3 separate regions of the Homo sapiens genome follow, and regions 1 and 3 are each linked to region 2. Evidence: promoter capture Hi-C in human tissues and cell types (Jung and others, 2019). All regions are on one chromosome and are shown on one strand. The core of a region is centred on a gene start or on the middle of the fragment in contact, and the rest is flanking DNA. Distances in the headings are between cores, read along the strand shown.

Region 1 (2,700 bases), core at 181-2,680, 270 kb after region 2:
CGTGGTTTCCAATACTTGGTTTTCAACAAAAGTGAAGGAGGATCTAATAGACTCCTCAGCTGAATATTTCATTTGAAATGATTTTCAGTGGTAGATTTTCCTGGTGCATATAACTGAAGCATTCAAGGAGTTGAGTGATATTGTTATAACAACTATTTTTTTTTCCTGTGACTTTCTGGAGTTTGGTGATGTCGGAAATTTAAAATGCTGTTTGGGGCCAGGTGCGGTGGCTCATGCCTGTAATCCCAGCACTTTGGGAGGCTGAAGTGGGCGGATCACCTGAGGTCAGGAGTTCGAGACCAGACTGGCCAACATGGTGAAACCCTGTCTCTACTGAAAATATAAAAATTAGCTGGGAGTCCGGGCATGGTGGCTGTTTGTAATCCCAGAACTTTGGGAGGCCAAGGCCGGCAGATCACCTGAGGTCGGGAGTTCGAGACCAGCCTGACCAACATGGAGAAACCCCATCTCTACTAAAAATACAAAAATTAGCTGGGCGTGGTGGCGCGTGCCTGTAATCCCAGCTACCTGGGAGGCTGAGGCAGGAGAATCACTTGAACCCGGGAGGCATAGGTTGCAGTGAGCTGAGATCTTGCCACTGCACTCCAGTCTGGGCGACAGAGCTAGACTCCGTCTCAACAAAACAAAAAACAAAACAAAACAAAACAAAAAAAAGCCTGGGTGTGGTGGCTCACGCCTGTAATCCCAGCAATTTGGGAGGCCGAGGCAGGTGGATCACGAGGTCAGGAGTTAGAGACCAGCCTGGCCAAGATGGTGAAACCCCATCTCTACTAAAAATACAAAAATTAGCCGGGCGTGGTAGCGGGTTCCTGTAATCCCAGCTACTTGGGAGGCTGAGGCAGAGAATTGCTTGAATCGGGGAGGCAGAGTTTGCAGTGAGCCGAGATTGCACCACTGCACTCCAGCCTTGGTGACAGAGTGAGACTCTGACTCAAAAAAAAAAAAAAAATTGTTGTTGAGGTTTCAGTGTCCACAGATATTTCAATTCATGAAACTTTCATTTTATAAAGCAAAATCAACTTGTAATATTAAAATCTTCACATCTTTATTGCAATGCTCAGAATACAGGTGGCTCAGGAGTTAGCTTCTTAAATAAGTTTACACATGAGGATTATCAGGTTAACAGATGGGGGATTTGAGGATTAGGCTTGCTACTGAGTCTTTAATATGATTTCTGTTACAAAGCCTGGAAGTTGGAAGTTCTACCTATATTCATTTAAAAGACTTCATGTTCTGAATGTGAAGCATGTTCAATGTACTCGTTGTATTTAAAAAAACTATGAATCAAATTTTTTATAAAAAAAGATTTTTTTTTTTTTTTTTAGGCCAGGCGCGGTGGCTCATGCCTATAATCCCAACACTTTGGGAGGCCGAGGTGGGCAGATTGCTTGAGGTGGGGAGTTCCAGACCAGCCTGGCCAGCATAGTGAAACCCCGTCTCTACTAAAAGTACAAAAATTAGCTGGGCATGGTGGTAAACACCTATAATCTCAGCTATTCAGGAGGCTGAAGCAGGAGAATCCCTTGAACCCGGGAGGCAGAGGTTGCAGTAAGCTGAGATCGCGCTACTCCACTCCAGCCTGGGTAACAGAGTGAAACTCCATCTGAAAAAGAAAAAAAATTGATTTGTTTTTTTTGAGTGACAGACAAGTTGGGTCTCTCCTTTTGGGAAACAGTTTTAGAGATATAATTCATATGCCATGCAATCATGAATTTGACATGTACATTCAATGGCTTTCAGTACATTCTTGTGGTTGTGCAACTATCACTGCAATCAATTCTAGAACATTTTCATCACTCAAACAAAAACCCCTGTACCCTTTTTTTGTCACCCCAAATACCTCTATCCACCTTAGGCAACAACTAATCTATTTTCTGTCTTCTGGATTTGCCTATTCTGGACATTTCCTTATTAAATGTTATTCATTATTATTAGGATTTTTTTTTTTTTTTTTTTGAGACAGAGTCTTGCTCTGCCACTCAGGCTGAAGTGCAATGGTGCCATCTCGTCTCACTGCAACCTCCACCTCCCAGGTTCCAACGATTCTCCTGCTTCACTCTCCCAAGTAGCTGGGATTAGAGGCACCTGCCACCATGCCCAGCTAATTTTTGTATTTTTAATAGAGACGGGATTTCACCATTTTGGCCAGGCAGGTCTTGAACTCCTGACCTCAAGTGATCCGCCTGCCTCGACCTCCCAAAGTGCTGAGATTACAGGCGTGAGCCACCGTGCTCGGCCTCAGTTATTATTATTAGTTTTAGAGACAGGGTCTCACTTTGTTGCCCAGGCTGGAGTGTAGTGGCATGATCTCAGCTCGATTGCACTCAACCTCCTAGGCTCAAGTGATCCTCCCACCTCAGCCTCCCAAGTAGCTGGGACTACATGTGTGTGCCACCACACCTGGCTAATTTTTTTTTTTTTTTTTGAGACGAAGTTCCCCTCTGTCGCCCAGGCTGGAGTGCAGTGGCGTGATCTCGGCTCACTGCAACCTCCGCCTCCAGGGCTCAAGCAGTCCTCCTGCAGGCTTCAGCCTCCCGAGGAGCTGGGACTACAGGCACATGCTCCATGCCTGGCTAATTTTTGTATTTTTAGTAGAGATGGGGTTTCAGCATGTTGGCCAGGCTGGTCTCAAACTCCTGACCTCAAGTGGTCCACCCACCTCGGCCTCCCAAAGTGTTG
Region 2 (2,700 bases), core at 100-2,599:
AAGAAATAGGATCCTAGATAAGTTCCCTTCAGATCGTATGGGGCTGGTGGGAATTCTGCCAAGGGTCACATAAGAGGCAGGACCGTGACATCCTCTTTATGATCACCCTTGTGCCTAGCCTTAAAGGAGTATCAGCAAATGTTGGTTGACTTCATAGATTAAAAGGCTCATTTTTCCCATCTACAAAAAGTATGAAACATCCTCCTCCTCCCTTTCCTAGGAGGCCAGAAAGCTGAACGAGAGATTAAATACTCAGTTAAAACAATTTAGGTGGTTAGTGTATCTTTTCCCTCTCCTTCAAAAAGATATTAACATTTCCATTTTAGTAGCTGTAATGTTTAGAATATACATACATTTTACTTGAAAGCTGCCTCATAGTCTATTTTGGTTTTGGATTTTCTTTTTTTTTTCGTTTTTCTTGAGACAGAGTTTCGCTCTTGTCTCCCAGGCTGGAGTGCAATGGTGCAATCTCAACTCACTGCAACCTCCACCTCCCAGGTTCAAGCAATTCTCCTGCCTCAGGCTCCCAAGTAACTGGGATTACAGGCGCCCGCCACCACGCCCAGCTAATTTTTGTATTTTTAGTACAGACAGGGTTTCACCATGTTGGTCAGGCTGGGTCTTGAAGTCCTGACCTCAGATGGTCCATCTGCCTTGGCCTCCCAAAGTGCTGAGATAACAGGTGTGAGCCACCGCTCCCGGCCTCATAGTCTATTTTAGAAGTTGACAGGCTATAAATAACAAGCAGACAAATTAATGAAGAACATCTGTCTTTCTGCCTATCCCGAAACACGTTGATCAGTGGGGGGTCGAGGGAAGGGTAGGAGTATGGAGAAGAGACCCGCGGAGAAGAGGGGAGAATCTACAACGGATAATGTTGTAGATATTTACAACATTTACTCAATGGTAGGTATTTTTATCCTCGTTTTACTAGTTGGAGAATTATATCATGCAGGTTTATACAATTAACAAGTGGGGGAGCCAGGAGAGAACCCATTCACTCTTTAGTTCATTCATTCATTCAGTCAGTCAACACATCTTTGGGTGTCTTCTAAATGCCAGGCACTATTCTAACCCCTAAGGATACTTCAGTAAACAAAACAGTCCCAAATTCTTCCCCTATGGAGCTTTCTCGGCGAAGGCGGGATTGGTTAGGAGCTGACAATCGGCAGCAGACGATTGTAAATGACCGGACCTTTTTTCTATTCTCCTGCCCAGCCCCCGGCCCGGCCTCCGCCTCCGGCCCTGCTCCAGCCCCGCCAGCGGCCCAGGACCCGCCCCTGGCTCCGGCCCCGCCCCTGGCTCCGCCCCCGCCCCCGCGCCGGCGGCGGCGCGGCGCCCGCGCTTCCGTATCGCTCCTCGTAGGCCGGGGCTCGGCGCGCGCACCCGCACTAAAGACGCTTCTTCCCGGCGGGTAGGAATCCCGCCGGCGAGCCGAACAGTTCCCCGAGCGCAGCCCGCGGACCACCACCCGGCCGCACGGGCCGCTTTTGTCCCCCGCCCGCCGCTTCTGTCCGAGAGGCCGCCCGCGAGGCGCATCCTGACCGCGAGCGTCGGGTCCCAGAGCCGGGCGCGGCTGGGGCCCGAGGCTAGCATCTCTCGGGAGCCGCAAGGCGAGAGCTGCAAAGGTAACGCAGCGTGGCGGGGTCGCGGGAGCGGAGCGCGTGGCCAGCTGACTGGAGGGAAAACGCCGCCTCCCTGCAGCGGTTCCCGGAATCCCCTCCGGTTCCCTCTCGCTCTCCCCGACTCCTCCTCCTCCTCCTGCCCTCCCTCTGCGTCTTGAGTATGCGGCTAGTGCGCCCTTCCTCTCTCCCGGGGCCGCACCTGCGACCCCAGGACCCCTCCCGGGCCCTGTCCTGCGCCCTCCACGCGTCGCCCCTGCTGGGAGTCCGCTTTCGTTGCACCCCTCCGCGTCCCACCCCACCCCACCAAGGATGCCCAGGATACCGGGCATTTGCCACTGCAAGATGTGAGTCGTTGCTAAGTTTGAGGGTCACATTCCTCCAGGTCCACCCCGCCTTGCAAAACCGGCTCACCAGCTGGGTGCTCAGGTTCGGGATCTCCAGCCCGCCCCCTTGAGGTCCCCTGGGATTAGCCCCCCTCGACCTGCGTCAGGGTCACAGACTGCAGCCGGGGCTGGAGCGGCCTACACCCCTCCGGATCCGCTGCGTGGAGGCAGGAGGGGGAAGGGGCGAGGGGACGTGGCCGCGGAGACAGAAGGGTGCACCCTCCCAGGGTCGGAGAGGGGAGATACTGGGAAGATACTCCGCGAATATGGAGAGGCGATCGGCACTTGCATTTCAACCCTGAGCAAATCAATCCGTTACACGCAGTAGCGAGTTGACTCCATCAGCCCGTTTATTTGGTTAGCGATGGTTATATTGACTCTGAGTATTCCCACCTCCTTTCTTTTAACATTTTTTTTTTTATTTCCTTGTTTTGTTTAGCAAGAAGTCTTAGAAACGAATATAGCATGCTTGGGCGTTGATTCAGTGGTGAGAAGTGCCGGAGCTGGCTCAGGGAGAGGTGGAGTTTCCCATGTGTGCTCACTGGCCCAGGGGCTAAGTCCCACTGCTTGCCAAGGTTTCTCAGTATCCTGTCCACCCACCCCCTATCCACCTGTGCAGGCTTGAGGGGGTGAGGGGGTAGCAGATACTCTATCAAAATCTACCCTAAGGAAAATATTCGATAAACACTCCT
Region 3 (2,700 bases), core at 72-2,571, 280 kb before region 2:
AATCCCTGCTTCCTGAGGCCGTGTTCTCTGTGCTTCTTAAAGGGAGCCACTTGCAAGCTAAGAAGCTGCCCATTTTTAGGATCAATATGGTATTCCCCCAAGTTGGTTAGAAAACACAATGGCAGGGACAGAATTTGCAGCAGGGGTTTGTAGAGGATTAGGGCTGCTTCGCCAGGATTTATCGCCCCATGCACAACCCAGACTGAAACCCTGGTCGCAGTCTGGGTGGTTTAGAATGAGCCAACAGGCATTGCCATCAGTTTTAGGCCTTTGAAAAGTAAAATCTTCCCAACGTGCAAAAAGTAACCACTAAAAATGGACCATAACCAGATGCAAAGAAAGAATGAAAGATTGTGAAAGGAAAAAAAAATTCTGAAACTGTATTTGGAAGGTTCCTGCAGAAGGGGTCCTTCTGAAAGTATGCAGCAGGCTTCATAGCTTGCCCAACAGTCATGTACATTTCAGAATGTAACTTTCCAAAGCAAGTTGCTTCTTTGCTTTACTACCTGCAGAGAGCCACCTGCTTCATTTAATCGTGCTTTGGGTTCTGTTTTATTTTTACTGTATCCCATTTTCCAGGGCAAAAAGCAGAAAGCAAATAAAACCACATTTTTGCTACTAACTTAATATGAAATCTATTTTAATTCAGAATGATTTCCCTCCACTTTTATTTTAAAACATGTTTAAGAAGAAAAGCAAGCTTAGAGGATTTCTGGTCCTAAATACAGCGATTTCAAGGATTGTTATCAAAACCCTGAAGGGCAGTGTTAAAGAATGGGATAACCTTGAAATATAGGATGGCTAAGAAGTGAGAGCAAAATATCACTCACTAGTGGCTATTTGTAACCAGAGTTATGCCAGGGAAGGGAGAAAGCAGTGAGAGCCGGCAATATTTGAGACGGAAAGAGATGACAGAGAAAGGTATCTTTAGCGAGGAAAGCATTTAGTGACTTTAAATCAGATGCCAAAAGAATATTTACTGGGGGAAAAATCAATTTTTCTGTGCTGTGGAGGAAGCATTTCAAAGTAAGACAACCTTTATTTCCAAATGCCTTCTGGAGGCCCTCCCCGGAGGACACAACACCAACGCTATTAATCTTGACTTAGTGAATGAACGTATTATACGGATTTCAATCCAGATCTTCAAGTCTTAAAGAGTTCTGAAGAGCCCAGATAAAGCAACCCGTTTTTCCTTTGGTGATTCCTCAGGGGTAACTCACTTTAATTCCCCTTTCATCTCTATGGGAGGACTCGGAACTTTAAAAGCAAACAGGTTTCCTATACTAATTCCTGGAGAGAAGGCTTCTGTTGCTTTCTTGCTGCTGCGAGACTGAAGGTGGGTGACCATCTTCATTTGTTACCTTGGAAGATGTGGAGAACCAGAAGTAAGTTTGAAATAATAGGCCAACGGTAGCTGTCTCCTTTCTTCGAGGAAAGTTATTGCCCTTCCAAATGCCAGTTTGTTTTTTGATTTTCCACGGTCCAGCCCCGTATTTAACACAGAAAGATGCTTTAGAAGCCAGAACACTGATAATAACCCCAAATATACACAAAGACAAAGCAGAGGGCATGCCTGTTTTGTCCCGTCAGACAAATTATGATCTAAATTTTCTGCCAACACCACTTTTTTTCCCCTGATTGTTTATGGCAACAGCAGCCTGTTTATTGAGATTCTAAACTGCAATGAAATTTTCTGGGATTGAAAAAAAGAGAATAAGAGAGTTAGAGAGAGAGAGAAGGCTTATTATGTAGAAGTAAACTGTTTCAAATGGAAACCTGACTCCCATTGTGGAAAGGGAAAGCATTGAGGAAAATTACGCCAGATTATCTAGGCTAAAGGAAAAATTTTATGCCTCACTGTGCCACTTGCAAGGAACAGGAGAGGAAAGAAAACACAGAAACTGTGTGGCAACAAATGACTAAATTGGGACGCAGAGATAGCAGCCTTGCTAGGTTCAGTCCAACTTGTACAAGAATGGTAACAACCTAAGGCAGAGATATACCAACAATTATCTGTTACCCAGGGATTATATTAATAAAACAGCCAGGGAGGGAAATGGCTCCATTTAACTAACTTTTTTTTTTTTTTTTTTTTTTGGGGGGGAGTTGGAGTCTTGTTCTGTTGCCCAGGCTGGAGTGCAGTGGCGCAATCTCGGCTCACTGCAACCTCTGCCTCCTGGGTTGAAGCAATTCTCCTGCCTCAGCCTCCCGGGTAGCTGGGATTACAGGCACCCGCCACTGCACCCGGCTAATTTTTGTATTTTTAGCAGAGATGGGGTTTCACTATCTTGTCCAGGCTGGTCTGGAACTCCTGACCTCATGATCCAACCATCTTGGCCTCCCAAAGTGCTGGGATTACAAGGGTGAGCCAACGCACCCAGCTACTACATTTTGACATAAAGTCCGAAGACGGGACACAGGTCAGCACTTTTCATCCTAAAGGGTTATCAAAAGACATCAACTTGTATAAAAACTGGTGTGAAAATCGAGTGATGTTTTAGTTGATGTCATATGTTTTGTTCTCTCATGTGTCCAGATCCCGGAATAGGCTGAGAAAAATAGAACCTGGAGTGTAAAAAGAAAAAAGAAACATGTTAGTGGATATAGGACATTTTGCAGCTCTCAATTTGATCTGTTCCACAGTCGTCACACAGGATGAGAAGATTGTAGGAATGTGGAAAAAATTAGAATAACCTTGCA

The links. Contacts are between HindIII fragments. The study calls those that stand out against the background at their distance.
Region 1: a fragment that was not itself captured here is called in contact with the fragment with the promoter of IFNAR2 in region 2 in 1 of the 25 tissues and cell types used here (lymphoblastoid cells).
Region 3: a contact is called between a fragment that was not itself captured here and the fragment with the promoter of IFNAR2 in region 2, in 1 of the 25 tissues and cell types used here (stomach).

What each region holds. Positions count from the first base shown.
Region 1 is chr21:33,497,474-33,500,173 of GRCh38, forward strand. No RefSeq gene overlaps it. Among named protein-coding and RNA genes, the nearest start is that of DNAJC28, 7.1 kb to the left of the region's middle. The HindIII fragment of the contact is 5,228 bases long and covers 1-2,700 here.
Region 2 is chr21:33,228,589-33,231,288 of GRCh38, forward strand. It overlaps IFNAR2 (interferon alpha and beta receptor subunit 2), which reads left to right and starts at 1,350. Exons shown (of 9, transcript NM_001289125.3): 1 at 1,350-1,628. IFNAR2-IL10RB (IFNAR2-IL10RB readthrough) reads left to right here and starts at 1,350. Exons shown (of 13, transcript NM_001414505.1): 1 at 1,350-1,628. RefSeq lists silencers at 1,167-1,626, 1,687-1,746, 1,767-1,816. The HindIII fragment of the contact is 14,450 bases long and covers 1-2,700 here.
Region 3 is chr21:32,951,198-32,953,897 of GRCh38, forward strand. No RefSeq gene overlaps it. Among named protein-coding and RNA genes, the nearest start is that of LINC01690, 6.3 kb to the right of the region's middle. The HindIII fragment of the contact is 5,013 bases long and covers 1-2,700 here.